Regions from separate parts of the Homo sapiens genome. Here regions 1, 2 and 3 are each linked to region 4. Evidence: promoter capture Hi-C in human tissues and cell types (Jung and others, 2019). All regions are on one chromosome and are shown on one strand. Each heading gives the region's core, a stretch centred on a gene start or on the middle of the fragment in contact. The rest is flanking DNA. Distances are from core to core; before and after follow the strand shown.

Region 1 (3,278 bases), core at 421-2,920, 40 kb after region 4:
AAAAAACAGCCAGTACTCCGAATATGTTGCTTTTCTGGTCACAGTAGGAAATTCAAAATGTAGTAATAGTTTTTTAGAGTATTGACTTTTGAAGATCTCAGTCATCCAGAGAAGAGCCTGCCTTGCCTGTGGAATTCGTTAATGGCTCATATGTTTTCCACTAATTTGTGAACCCAGGATCCAATCTATTGCTCACCTATGTAGCTTAGAAATACTTTTTTTTCATCCTGTAGTTGGCTGAACCAAATCCTGCAAGAAAACATGCTGCAATTTTAAAAGCTGAATAATGGTGCCTTAAGCCTGGGACTCTCATTTATTTTTATCACTGAACAGTATATAAATCTCTAAAAATGGCTACTTAAAATATAACTGGATTTTGTAGTCTCTGGGGCTCAGGGAAAACATTATTTTGTCTCATTCTCTTGGACTGAACCCAGTAACGTGCCATTTTGTCACAATGCCCAATAACCTTAGCTTCTCTTGGCTAATGAACAACATTAGCTCTTATTTCCCAGGTATGAAAGAGTTTCTATCATGAGAAAAGGAAGTGTGTTTCCAAAACAGTTAGCAGTGGCTTTCTGAAGTTAGTGCATATACAGGAGAGGAGCAGTCTTATGTAATATCCTTGAGTATTTTTCCAACATAGGAAATACTTGACGGTACCTGACAGCCTCAGGTGCCATCTGGAAAAGTGTCATCTTGTAGGAAGCTTGGATCAGAGCCTGTGTGTCATAATATGTCAGGTGTGTCATAATTACTTTGTGGTTCTGGTGGGGAGTGAAACAAAGACTATGTCAAAGGTTGCAGGGTTCTTAATGGAATATAAATTTCTTTGTTGGAAAGTAGATCTTTAATACTAAACTAGTTTTTGTAGTTATAGACAAATTCATTTTGCACTGTAGCCTTGCTTGTTATTTTTCTCAACATTAAATCTGCCATTGTGAAACGGTCTCAATATCTGATTTAAGTAATTAGTTGCATTTAGATTTCTATATTTAGACTGTCATTTTCATGGGCTTTTCCAGCAAGTCATCTCATTGACTTTGTTGAAGGTAGTTTTAGAATACAGAAAGTCAGTATGTAAAGTAGAAAGGTGGTTCTTTCATAGGATGGGCTTTGAAACTCCACACCACCACCATTGGTCTTGTCAAAATTTTGTTTTCTTTCATGTTTGTCACTTTGACCAAATCCTATCCCCCAAAGAAAAGAAAAAAAAAATCATCAAACAGACCCGTCTCCACATGCAAAGCATGTAGTATATGATGATGGGAGCCTGGAACTTACAGCTGGGGAATGCCAGGAATTTGGGGTTCTAGTGTCACTAAGGCTCCGCCTTTCTGTGCTTTAGTTTCCTGTTTAGAAAGTTCTGCTCCTTCATAAGGACCTTGAAGTACTAGGAGGAAAGGTGCTTTGTGTGTGGAGTTTTCCATGAAGTGCAGTCCCAACTAAAAGGCTGCGTTAAAGGTAGGTAAATGCCTTATAAAAACATATTTTAAATACAAAACATTTGTTAATTTATGCCACTTATTTATTTATTTAAGTATAAAATAGCCTCAGGCAATTGGAATTCAGATTTAAAATTCAGGTTTTGTTTATTGAATTCTCTTGCTAAGAGCAAAGAATGTAAAGGCTTGGGAAGTAGAAATTGGAACGCATTTTAATTGCCTGAATAGGTTTACCGGAGAAGAAGTTTTATTAACGTGGAAACATGTTCTTCCTCTGAGTCTGATTAGAGGCTACTTTGGGCTAGTCCATAAATCTCTTTTCAAATCTAAAGTGAGCATAACCATCATAAAGTGAGCCATAACTTAACAGCTCTTCCTGAGGACTGCCTTGGCTAGAGTTTCTATGGTGAGAACTCAGAATTCCAGGAATGCATGTTGAGCTGGAATCTCTCATATCAGTGATTCCCAAAGAGGAATGAGGGTGTGTCCGAATCTCCAAGTGTGCTTTTGAAGCTCTGAAGACCTCTTTTCCTTTGCCCGGGAGCTCAGTGAGCCACTGTTGTTAGCAGTTGTGTTTGGTATCTTTAGGTGTTTTAGTGAAAAAACAACTGAAGTTAGGCTGATGAGGAGAGTTGGGGGTAGCCTGTTAGCATTTCTCCCTGGAGAGTGCCACTCACTCTAGAAAAAGTAAATAATGGCTTTGAATGATTTGTAGTCCATACAGTGGCAGTCATATTGCTGAAAATTTGGTAACATATAATGTTTGTGGTATTTGGCTTGGTTCTAAATGCAGTTTGTGTGTGTGTGATGTTGTTTTGCATGAAGAGGCTACATGTGGGTGTTTTGATGCCCTGTAACAGAAACCAGTGGGACTAGAAAACCTGGATCTCTTAGTGCAGGGTCAGCACCAAGTCGGAGTAAGTTCTCAAAGAGTAGGTGACGTTGTGGCGATGGCGTGCTCCTCACTTTGTCGGACTGGGCTTGTTGGGTTTCTGTTTCACTGAGGGAGGAGATTTTCTGTGCATTTGATTACGCTACATGATACTGTGCAAGCTAACACTTTGGGCTTTGGGTCTGGGAAGGAAATGTATTTTGGTTACTTATTGTATAGTTTTGTATAATTTGTATAATTTATGCCTCATTTTGAGATGCAAGTAGGAAAATGGAAAAACAAGGAACCCAAGTAATCAGCAAATGAGCTTAAGAGAAGAGTCCCTGGGAAATTAAATAATATTTGAAGCTTCAAAGCTGTATGTTTAGGTTTTAGAACATCAGATATTAGGACCCAGTGATAAGAATTCTCCATTTATTGAACTGTTTTGAAATTTCATTTTTTAATTGCTTTAAGACGTCCTTAACTTGACGTCTTATAATACAGTTCGATAGTTGAATGAGACCATTCTGAAGTGAAAACAAAACAAATTAACTAGAAGTGATCTTAGCTATCATCCCATCCATCCTTTTTATTTTGCTGATGAATCCAGTAACTTGTGATAAAAGTCATATCTTGCTCTCAGAATTCTCCATGTCTCTCTGTGGAGTTAGCACATAATATATACTGGCTGGCTGGTGGGCTGGCTGAGATAGTATTTGCTAAAAAACTTAAACCTTTTGACCACAGTATTTGTGAAGAAAGTCTTGGTGGAAGATGTTAGAGTGACTCTTCGTTTTGGGATTTAAAAGCTTAGCCATTCTTCTGTGAGTTGTTAGATGCTACTGCTTGCTATTCTAAAAGCTTCTGATGTGTAAAATATTCTATAGGTATAAAACCTTTTGATGTGTAAAATGTCTTTTTTGTTACACATTCTCAAGCTGGTAGTCTCTTTTACCATT
Region 2 (3,276 bases), core at 211-2,710, 59 kb after region 4:
TTCAGTGTGACTATGGGACTAAGTAGTACCTTTAAAAGGAAAGGCTAGGGCCAGGAAAGTGGAACAAGATGGGGAAGATGGATCTATGCATTGAAGACATGCTTTTTCAGCTCCATAATATGGAGCTATTTCCTAGCTATTGTGCTAGGTGCTGGGGTTTCTTCGGTAGCTCAGAATCTGGTTGGAAAAACAGACCGGTAAGAAGAATCTTGCAGTTCCCTACAATGTGCTTGGCACAGTGATAAAGCTGTTGGAATGTTGAGCAAAAGAGTGGCACGTAGCCCAGCCCAGGGAGAAGCAGCAGGAAGGAGAATGGTCGTATTAGGAGGAGGGCCACCAGGTGTCTGGGTTCCATATTGCCACATGCAAGCTGGGAGTGGATGTAGGGGCTGTGAGGCTTGGTGGGCCGTCTACCGCTCTCTAGTCAGAATTCCTGTGTGAGAAGCAAGCCCTCCAGGCTGTGCAGTCATGGAGAAAAGGCAGTTCTGAGAGATGTACTTATCTGTCACCAAAGTTTGTCTTCTAGGCATTCTTTCCTTTTCTTTCTTTTGTTAGATGACATATTTAGTGTGGTTTGAATTTGTGGGAATCATAACCTTGAATTGGTTGATTTTCCCCTTATGTAAAAGACAAAAGTCATCTTGCATTAATATGTCTTTTGACTGGATTTATATTGCTCTTGGGGATGATAAAAGCTCAGTGAACTGAGCATCTAACAGGCAATGAAAGTTCTCTGTGTATTTAAGACTCTGAATTGGCTGTCATTTTACTATCCACACCTCTTAACAACATCATATTACACATTCGCATTAATCTGCATTCTCTCAATGACCTGTATAAACTGATTGGGGCAGCTGTTAGGCCTACTGTATTAATAAAGAAAGTAAGACACATACTTGCAGATTTTAATTTTTTGACAATATTCATTGCTTTTGTTGGTTCTTTTGGTTGCAAGTAATAGCAGGTCATTCCAATTACTTTAGGAAAAGAAGAGTTTTTCATAAGCCTGCATATGTACTGGAAGTGGGGATGACTAGATGAGCAGAAGTTCTGGATGCTTCCTTTTCTCCTCTCTCCTCCTCCTCCTCCTCTCTCTCTGCTCTTCTCCTCCTCTTTCTCTTCCTCCTCCTTCTCTCACTCATCTCCTTCTCCTCTCTCTTCCCCCTCTCTGCTTTCCTCTTCTCTCCTCTGCTGCCTCTCCTCTGTCTTCTGTCTGCTCTCCTCTCTCTTCTGTCTCTCTTCTCTTTCTCTCTCCTCCTACTCTCCTTTTTCTCTTCTCCTCCTTTCTCATGCTCTCTCTCCTTTCTTCTCTCTCTGCTCTCTCCTCCTCTGCTCTCTCCTCCATCCTCTCCCCTCCCTTCCCTCTCCCTGTCCCCTCTCTGCCTCTTCCTCTCTCTCCCTCCTCTTCTCTCTGCATATCTGCATCACCCTTTCCTCAACCTACAGACCAGTTTTCTTTGTGGCATTTGCTTGTATGTGATCAACCTTCTTCTCTCAGCCTCTTTCTGCATAACTGACCTTAAAGCTTCAGCTCCCACTACTAATTGCTCTGTTTTCTTTCAGGATCTAATTGACCCAGCTTATCTTTTTTTTTTTTTTTTTTTTGAGATGGAGTTTCATTCACTCATGTCCAGGCTGGAGTGCAATGGCATGATCTCGACTCACTGCAACCTCCGCCTCCCAGGTTCAAGCAATTCTCCTGCCTCAGCCTCCTGAGTAGCTGGGATTACAGGCCTGCACCATCACGCCCGGCTAATTTTGTATTTTTAGTAGAGATGGGGTTTTGCCATGTTAGTCAGGTTGGTCTCACACTCCTGACCTCAGGTGATCTACCCACCTCGGCCTTCCTAAGTGCTGGGATTACAGGTGTGAGCCACTGCGCGCGGCGCAGCTTATCTTTTCAAGCAAGGTCATATTGTAGCTGGATTGATTCTTCCTAAGTCGGGCCTTTCTCAACTCTCCCCATCCTACTCAGCTTGGAACAGGGAAGCATACCCATGTGGTGCATAAGATCAGGAAGTTGGAAGCTTCCTTCAGAAGCACAAAGTGATGAGAAGCAAGACATTCTGAGGCATGACCCTTCCCCGGCCTGGCTCGTAACTCATTTCCTACACACAGTTCTAAAGATCTCCTCTTCCAATGTAAGCCAATCCTTATAGGTAAAACCACATATTCACTTAACCTTTCCCCAACAGGAAGTGTCCAAAGTCATAGTCAGCTCTTGCTGACTGTGGGACCATTTAAAAACCATTGTCTCCATCTGAAGCCACAATTCTCAATGATCTCTGTCACAATTCTAGTTCTGTCACGATCCATTTGAACCATTCTGCAACCCATGGACTACATGGCACATGTAACCACAGTACATGCTTAACGTATAAAGGTGAGGCGTATCTTAATACTCATGTAAGAAAGGGCAGAAGGCTACACCTCCCAGTCTGTCTGTGAGAAAGACACGTCATACCTGGGTCACTGGCTCAACATATGCTCTGTCTAGTAGAACAGAGCCCACACTCGTGATGGGCAGCCTCCTTGCTTGCATTCTGAGGCCAGATGCTGGGAAATAGGTTAATTGGAGGATCTTAATTAAGCATGAAGACAGTCCTCACCTTCATACATTAGGCGTGCACCATACTGCCATCCCCCTCCCCACAAACACACATTTCACATTCTTGGTATTTGTTTCTTCAGAGCCTGCTTTGTGGCACTTTATCAGAGCAGCTGGCATATTGGGAGAGGGATAGAATATAAAGTCTTTATAAAATTCTAAGATGACTATGTGATATGAATATTTGGCTTGTTTTTTGTTTATTTTGATGCCCTTAGTTCAGTTCCCCCAAATCGCTGTGACGATTTCTTGATCTCTGCTTTACTGCCCCATTGGGCAGTACTTTTTTATTTTTAAACTGTGCTTTACCTTTCTGAAAATATATTCTTACAACTTTCCCAATCATGCTAATTAATTTAGTATCTACACCAGCTTCTGTATCCTCAGTAACCAGACAGTAATGAATTAGTAAACAGGCCAGTTATTAGAAAAATAGAACAATCTGGATGATGGTCACCTGAGAGGCAGCCTCAGTTTGGATGGTGGAATAGGGAGTAGTGGGGTCTGGTGATTTGGAGGTTGTAGAGATGGTGGGGGGTGCGAGCCTAATGTTGCCAGGTCTTCCCAGTTTTCAAGAGAAACTGGAAATATGTTTTACATGAAGTATATATTTTTAGAAATATACATGAGCCAAGAAAACTTATTCTTGCAAAACTTTCCGTTTGTAA
Region 3 (3,560 bases), core at 1,025-3,524, 37 kb before region 4:
GCACATCACCACACCCAGCTAATTTTTGTATTTTTAGTGGAGACGAGGTTTCCACATGTTGGCCAGGATGATCTCAATCTCTTGACCTCATGATCTGCCCATCTTGGCCTCCCAGAGTGCTGAGATTATAGGCATGAGCCACCACACCCAGCTGCTATTTATGCTACATTTTTATAATCAACTTGGATGGAAGACAGACAGAGCTCTACATTCATGACTACAAAATGTTTTATATGCAACTTCCTGAGTATAACCTAATTGCCTATAGAGAAAAAAAATGCTCTTCTAGAAGCACCTTCTGTTGAAGTATCTCATGTTCAGGAGAAATTGAACAAATGTGACAATGCAAACTTCATACCTACTTATGGTAGCACTCCAGGAGCCTGCCACACCTCCTGGAAGCTGTCAAATTCACTTCTGGGTCTCAAAAATGGGAATACAAACATTTTTCTAAGTTACTGCATAAGTCTTACCCAAACCTAGCAGAGGTCAAAGTCTCCTCCCTCACCGTTAATACTAAGACCCTTTTATCTAGGCAGTGGCTTTACTCTGTCCTACTAAGAGATAGGCTCTCCCTTCAACTGCTCATCTCAGACCAGGCCAGGTAATCAACCCTGCATCCACCACTCCCACCTTCAGAAGAGCCACCTCCTGCTGGGTCCATACTGGACCCTAATTCAGAGCAGGAACAACCTGATACTACACAGGAAACTAGCAGCAGCAAGGGAAAAAAAAAACAGCAAAAACAATAGAAAACTAGTCTCTGTCCTAATCTTTCTAAACAAGGTTTTCATACAGATGCAATTTGAACCATACTAAGAGCCCAGCATTAGATTTATGTTTGGATTTCCAGACCAACAAACACTTACTTGTTTTAGAGATTCAAAGAAAAACATGATGTGCAAAGACATGTCAGAATTAAGGATCTTGTTCAAAAATATGCTCTGTGCCAGGTGTAGTGGCTCCTGCCTGTAATCCCAGCACTTTGGGAGGACAAGGCAGGAGGATCACTTGAGACCAGGAATTCAACACCAGCCTGGGCAACATGGTGAGACCCTGCCTCTACAAAAATGAAGAAAACAATCAGGCATGGTAGTGTGTGCCTGTAGTCACAGCTACTCAGGAGGCTGAGGCAGGAGGATCGCTTCAGCCCAGGAGTTCCAAGCTGCAGTGAGCTATGATCACACTACAGCACTCCAGCCTGGGTAATAGAGCAAAACCCCGCCTCCACCTCAAAAAAAGAAAGGGGGGGTGGGCAAACATAAAAAAAAAAAATTCTGACTACATACAGAAAGTAAGTCAAAGTAATATAACTATATATCAAGTTCCAAAAACAAACAACAACTTCTTTTTTTTTTTAAGACAGGGTCTCTACTCTGTCACCCAGGCTGTAGTGCAGTGTTGTGACACATGGTTCACTGCAGCCTTGACTTCCTGGGTTCAAGTAAGCCTCCCTCCTGAGTAGTGCATGGTGGTGCATGTGCCTGTAGTCCCAGCTACAATAATGCACCAGTATGCATTATTTTTTATTTAATGTAGAGATGGGGTATCAATATGTTGCCCAGGCTGGTGTTGAACTCCTGGGCTCAAGCATTCCTTCCACCTTGGCCTCCCACAGTGCTGGGATAACAGACATTAGCCACCACACCTGTTCCCCAAAAAATTTTATTGGAAAATGTCTTCTTAGACCTAGCAAGGCCTCCAAATTAAATATATGTATGTAAATATATATTTGTCTGTATTTGTGTATCTTGACTCAGTATTATTGAATGTCAGGTTTAAAGGGGGCCCCAGGATACTGATGCTCAAATGATGATCTACAAGCCCATTAAACCACTATTGATGTTTGCAGGATCTAATTAAAATGATAGTAAAAGATGTGTGTGTGTGTGTGTGTGTGTGTGTGTGTGTGTGTGTAGCATTGTCAGTTTGTCACTATCCTTATCCCCAAAAGATCTATTCTCTATTGTGTCCTTCTGTTTTTTTGTAAAAATTATCTTTTATGAAATGATAGTTGTAGTAGAAAGTCGTTTTGGTTTTTTGTTGTTGTTTGGCTTGGGTTTTTTTAATTTGACAAAATAAAACATTGAAAACCTGGTAAGTCCACATTTTGGGGTGGCATGGGTATTTTACTGATCCTTGAAATTCGTACATCTGGGATGTATGACCTAGACAACATGTACCAAATCTATCTGATGTTTGAATGCTTCTTAGTAACTTTCACCTATTAGTCCTAGTTCTAGCTCCTGCACCCACACAGACTCAGCTGTCCCTGTTCCAGATGAAAGTCCTTTCTATAGCTGAAGACAGTGCTTCTGTTCCCCCTAAGATCTTTTTTTCTCCAGAATTAAAAATCTTCTATTGTCTTCAACTCTACTTTTGAGCCAGACCTCAAAATAGAGCCTGTGAGATAAAAGAAAACATTGAAAGAAAGAAATATGTATATACTTAAAGAAAGAAATGCCATTTCTTTTATGTTTTATAAATGAGGAAATTGAATCCAAGTGCTTAAGAGACATAACTAAGATCTAACAGTGTGTTACTGACATTCACTACGCAGCAAATCAAAACATCTTACCCTTGAGAAATGTTTGCATTAAAGCAAAGAACAAAAAGACAGTAGCAGATGCATGTAAATTGATTCAACAAATATTTTCAGTGTCTAAACTATGCCATGAATTACGGTAGCTAAAAGGAAACAGGTTCCCTGCTTTTGAGGAGCTTAGAAGCAAGAAATAGTAAGTAAATAAAATAGCAAAAATATGAAAAAGTAGCATGACAATAGAAACAACTACTTCAGTTGGGGAAGCTGGAAAGGCACAAGAGAGGAAGTGAAATTGAGGTTGGGCAATGAAGGATGAATAGGAATTTTCCAAGGAAGGTTAAGTGTGTTTGGAGGAAGATACAATGAGTTCAATTCCAGAGAGCTGAACTTCAGGTAATTTTGAGGCACCTGGAGGAGATAACCAAGGGGCAATTACACCATGAAAAAAGAAAATTGAAAAAAAACAGACATATGTGGTACATGCCCACAGAAAGTAGTGCTGAAAGAAAACTTTTTCATTTTTCTACCAGATTGGAAAATGCTTTGTATAAAAGTTTAAGATGAGTTTACTTTTAACTATATGGACAAGGAAGGTTTTCTTTCTAAATCATGATGGAGAAGTCCATTCTCATTGATAGCAACAAAATAAGAAAGAGAATAGGAAATACAGCTACCAAGGAGGTGAGTTTCAAAATAATGAGAATAAAGTTACTCAGTGTTAAACTTCCTATCTTTAACTTGTAGATACTTGTAGAGGTAGTGTTAGCTTTGAAATTTCTTGAGATTTCATGCTTAATAAGATTAATTTCACATAAATATGGAAGTTACTTCTTGATACTTGGTAAGCACTTTGAAGTTATTTTTATCCCAGTACAGACAGGTAGTTTCATTTGGAGTTCAGGCAGATCAGGATTACTCCGTAGTGAGAACAAGTACATTCAATACAACAGGCTGCATTTGTATGACACAGTTCCACTATGATCTCTTCAACCACGTGCCCGGTGGGCCTGCCTCC
Region 4 (3,441 bases), core at 837-3,336:
ACTAGATCTGCAATATTGAGAACAAAAAGAGGCAAGTGAAGATAAAAAAGGAAGGTAGTAGAGGGAGATGACTGGCAATAGAAGCTAGTACAGTAGTATCTTACTTCACAAAATTATTGAGTTACCCAAAAGCTGATTCCAAAGTTTTGTAAATATCATCCCAACACATTAGAAAGGCTTGCTAAATTAAAGAAGCTTGCTACTTAGAGCTTTTGTCAAGCAAAAAGGCCCTTATTTCAATTCAAATTTTACATAGATGACTTGTAGGTAAGAACTCTCAACATTTTCAAAGCCCTTAGACATACATTTCTTTGGATTCTCACAAAAACGCCATGAGAATTGTTTTCCCTTCCACAGATGAGGAAAGTGAAGCTTAGAGGTTGAGCCACTTGCCCATGGAAGCCTGGTAGGGAAATGGCTGAGGTTAAGACCAGGACCCCGGCACACTACTCATTGGCACTAAGGTAGCCCCATGACATGTCTCTACAGAGATAGGCAGAGCAAAAGAAACTTACTTTTTCAGGCAATTTTCTCTGATTTTCATAAAACTGTAGCTACCAAATGGGGATACCTAGGGTATCAGTTTTATGATATCCTAGGTATCCCCGTTTCTCCCATTCTTCCCCTCCAAACCATCTTCCTGGGTCTGCTGCCCTGTCCATCTTCACAGAATTCAGTTCGGATTGTCTCCTCCCCCAGCATCTCTGCTATCTCCACGTAGTCTACAAACTAAGTGCAGGAGCCACAGACTGACAGTCAGGACTTCTGCCTGAGCCCCCATCCACAGCTCAAACCCTCTTTCCTATTTCACTATGCTAATGCTTACCCCTTGCACTCCAAACAAGCAGGTCTGTGTACCACCATCTAACACCCCAACAGGGCCAGGCTAGGGTGAGGTGAGTCACAGCACTTAAAGGTTCACCAAAGAATTCAGTAATCAAGGTTAATATTTTAATGGAATATTTAAAAAAATCAAAATTAATATCAAAAATGCATGATGAAAAATAACAAAATTTTAAATAAAGACAGGGTAAGTTTAGGGGTTTTTCCTATTGCTTCAGGCTCAAAAGTGCCTTCCGGGGCACTGTTATCGGCCCTGCAGTGACTCCCCACACAGATACTTTTACTAATGATGTTTCCCAAAAGTTAGTTCTTACAACCGCTTTCTACATTAGTAACGTCTTTCTTCTTGAACGCTCCAGCATTTAAGTGTAGCGCTCTACTGTCAGGAAAACCCATTTCCCCTAGTAACTAGTAGTACTTCGAAGATATTCTGAATCATCTTGGATCCTTTCCAGCACTTTCCCAAACCACAGTGAGCACTCAGCACCACTTCGCTAAAAGAGTGCAGAATCACAATGCTCAAATCACTGTCTGGGGGGTTCAGCAGGGAGGGGACGCAGATATGTTTTGTTTAGTCCAGGGTGTTTTGAGAAAATTGAATTTGTTATCAAGATTTTACAAATCAGGATATTGTACATGAATATACTCCGTCATTTCTGGAAAAATCAGAAAATCTAGCAACACTAGGTCTAATTCTTGCCCGATAGCAAGGGACCCTGAGAGCAGATAAGCGGCCCTGCCTTCGGAGCTCTCTCCAGTTCGCCTTCCCCCAGTTACAGTGCCTGTCAGGCCCCATTAGATCTTTGAGTTTGCTATCGTAAGAATAAAGGAAGGAGCGCACAGGATAAAAACCCATCGGCTGGGTCTATTCGTTTTTTCCTAGAGAAAAAAAAAAATGTTTCCTGGTTGTCCTTTCGAATATAGTCTCACAGAGAAGCTCACAGAAGCAGCCCACCTTTCTAGCCCACAAACTTCCCACAAGCCGTGAAAGTCGCACCGGCTCTTGCACCCAGATCGGTTTCTCCCGGGTCTTTGGCTCAGGGCCCCCGCCCCTACATTGGCCTTTCCCTTCCTCTGCCACCTCCGCGCTCCGAGGCCTGGGGCGGGTCGCGGGTCCCGGCCCCCAGCCCCCAGCCCCTAGCCGCTGCTCTTTGCCCCGGGCCAGGGCGCTCGGGCTCGCCCACGGCGGCACTGAGCATGCTCAGAGGCGGCCGCGCGGGCAGGTTTGCTTCGCAGGCGCTCGCACTCGGCGGCGGGCGGGCGCGCGGCTGCAGCTGGAGCTCCAGCGCCCGGAGTTGGAGTTGCCGGGAGTTTCCCCCCAACCCCTCCCTTTTCGCGCGCGGCAGCAGGAGCCGGCGCGGGAGCCGCGAGCGGCGGCGAGCCAGCACCCGGGCCGGCTAAGCCTTGTCCGGAGCCCGGAGCCCCGCGCGGGGCAGCCCCCCGGGGAGGAGCCTCGTGCTCTGGGACGCGTGCCGCGCACTGGCACGGCAGGGGCGCGAGCCAGGCTGCACGGTAGGACCGGGGCGAGGGGAGCCAGGCGGTCAGGGCGGAGGCCAAGCCCGGGAGATGCGGTTGCAGCCGCCACGGCTGTTGGGGCGCCTGGCGCTCCGTCCGAGGCGGGTGGCTGTGAGGCCAGGGGAGTAGGCAGGCTCCCAGAGAGATTCTTCCAAGTTGGCGGGTGGCGGGAGAGGGGGCCGCGCGCCCCGGCGCAGCTGCTTTGTGCGCGCAGAGAGGGACTCGTGTCCCTGGTTCTCTCCAACCCTGGGACCCGTTGTGCGGGCAGTATTGGGCAAGCCGCAGAACGGAGCGATTTCCTCCGAGAAAGTTGAGGATGGAGCCTTTTTTTCCGCACCGTCCCCGCGATGGCATGGGCCCCGAGAATGCTGCCCCGAGGCTCCCAGTGTGGGGGAGCTCGGGGTCGCTGCGCCTCTAGCTTGAGCGCAGAAATCCGCGAATCACTCCGATCTTCGCGAACTCTGGCATCTTCTAGGAAAATCATTACTGCCAAAACTGAGGCGAGCTTTTCTGGCGGGCACGGCACCCTGCCCCCAGGGCGCTGGCCCTGGGCGATGCCCCCTTTCCGATCTCAGGCTTGGTCAAGGGCGCCAGGTTCCGAATTCGCGCTTGCCGTGCACGCCGGCATCGAGCCTCACCAACACCGCCGGGCAACGTGGCTGGAGTAGGTGGGTGGCTTGATTTTCCCTCCAACCTTTCCTCAGGTTTACAACACCCCGCCACCTCACCACCCCACCCCGTTCATCTTCACAGAGGACAGGACCTGCAGGTGGAGAATTTGGAAAGACATCTTGTTCTTTAGGAGAAAGTCCCCGGGGTGTATCTGCCCTTGGTTCTGGCCCCAGGATTTCATAACGAACCTTCTCCCCTTCCTATTACGCTTCCCTAGGGACTGGGTGGGAGAGAATAGGATCGGTAGGTCCGCAGGAACTTCCATCTCATTCCACCCTCTCCTAAGATTGCCTTCCGGGCGACCCCAGGACCCTGGAACTGGCATTGTGCGGATTGTAAGGCTGTGGAGGATGCCGACGAATTTTTCCTGGCTCCACTTTTTTCACTTCTTGTTTTGAGTTTTGGGGTTTT

Evidence for each region. Contacts are between HindIII fragments. The study calls those that stand out against the background at their distance.
Region 1: a contact is called between a fragment that was not itself captured here and the fragment with the promoter of STXBP6 in region 4, in 8 of the 25 tissues and cell types used here (adrenal gland, dorsolateral prefrontal cortex, heart left ventricle and 5 more).
Region 2: a fragment that was not itself captured here is called in contact with the fragment with the promoter of STXBP6 in region 4 in 6 of the 25 tissues and cell types used here (IMR-90 fibroblasts, adrenal gland, dorsolateral prefrontal cortex and 3 more).
Region 3: a contact is called between a fragment that was not itself captured here and the fragment with the promoter of STXBP6 in region 4, in 1 of the 25 tissues and cell types used here (spleen).

What each region holds. Positions count from the first base shown.
Region 1 is chr14:25,008,711-25,011,988 of GRCh38, reverse strand. The region is part of intron 1 of STXBP6 (syntaxin binding protein 6); the gene reads left to right. Among named protein-coding and RNA genes, the nearest start is that of STXBP6, 40 kb to the left of the region's middle. The HindIII fragment of the contact is 5,454 bases long and covers 1-3,278 here.
Region 2 is chr14:24,988,989-24,992,264 of GRCh38, reverse strand. The region is part of intron 1 of STXBP6 (syntaxin binding protein 6); the gene reads left to right. Among named protein-coding and RNA genes, the nearest start is that of STXBP6, 60 kb to the left of the region's middle. The HindIII fragment of the contact is 4,243 bases long and covers 1-3,276 here.
Region 3 is chr14:25,086,292-25,089,851 of GRCh38, reverse strand. No RefSeq gene overlaps it. Among named protein-coding and RNA genes, the nearest start is that of STXBP6, 38 kb to the right of the region's middle. The HindIII fragment of the contact is 8,084 bases long and covers 1-3,560 here.
Region 4 is chr14:25,048,792-25,052,232 of GRCh38, reverse strand. It overlaps STXBP6 (syntaxin binding protein 6), which reads left to right and starts at 2,086. Exons shown (of 6, transcript NM_001394410.1): 1 at 2,086-2,355. LOC124903295 (a long non-coding RNA gene) reads right to left here and starts at 1,889. Exons shown (of 2, transcript XR_007064091.1): 1 at 1,799-1,889; 2 at 1-7. The HindIII fragment of the contact is 10,437 bases long and covers 1-3,441 here.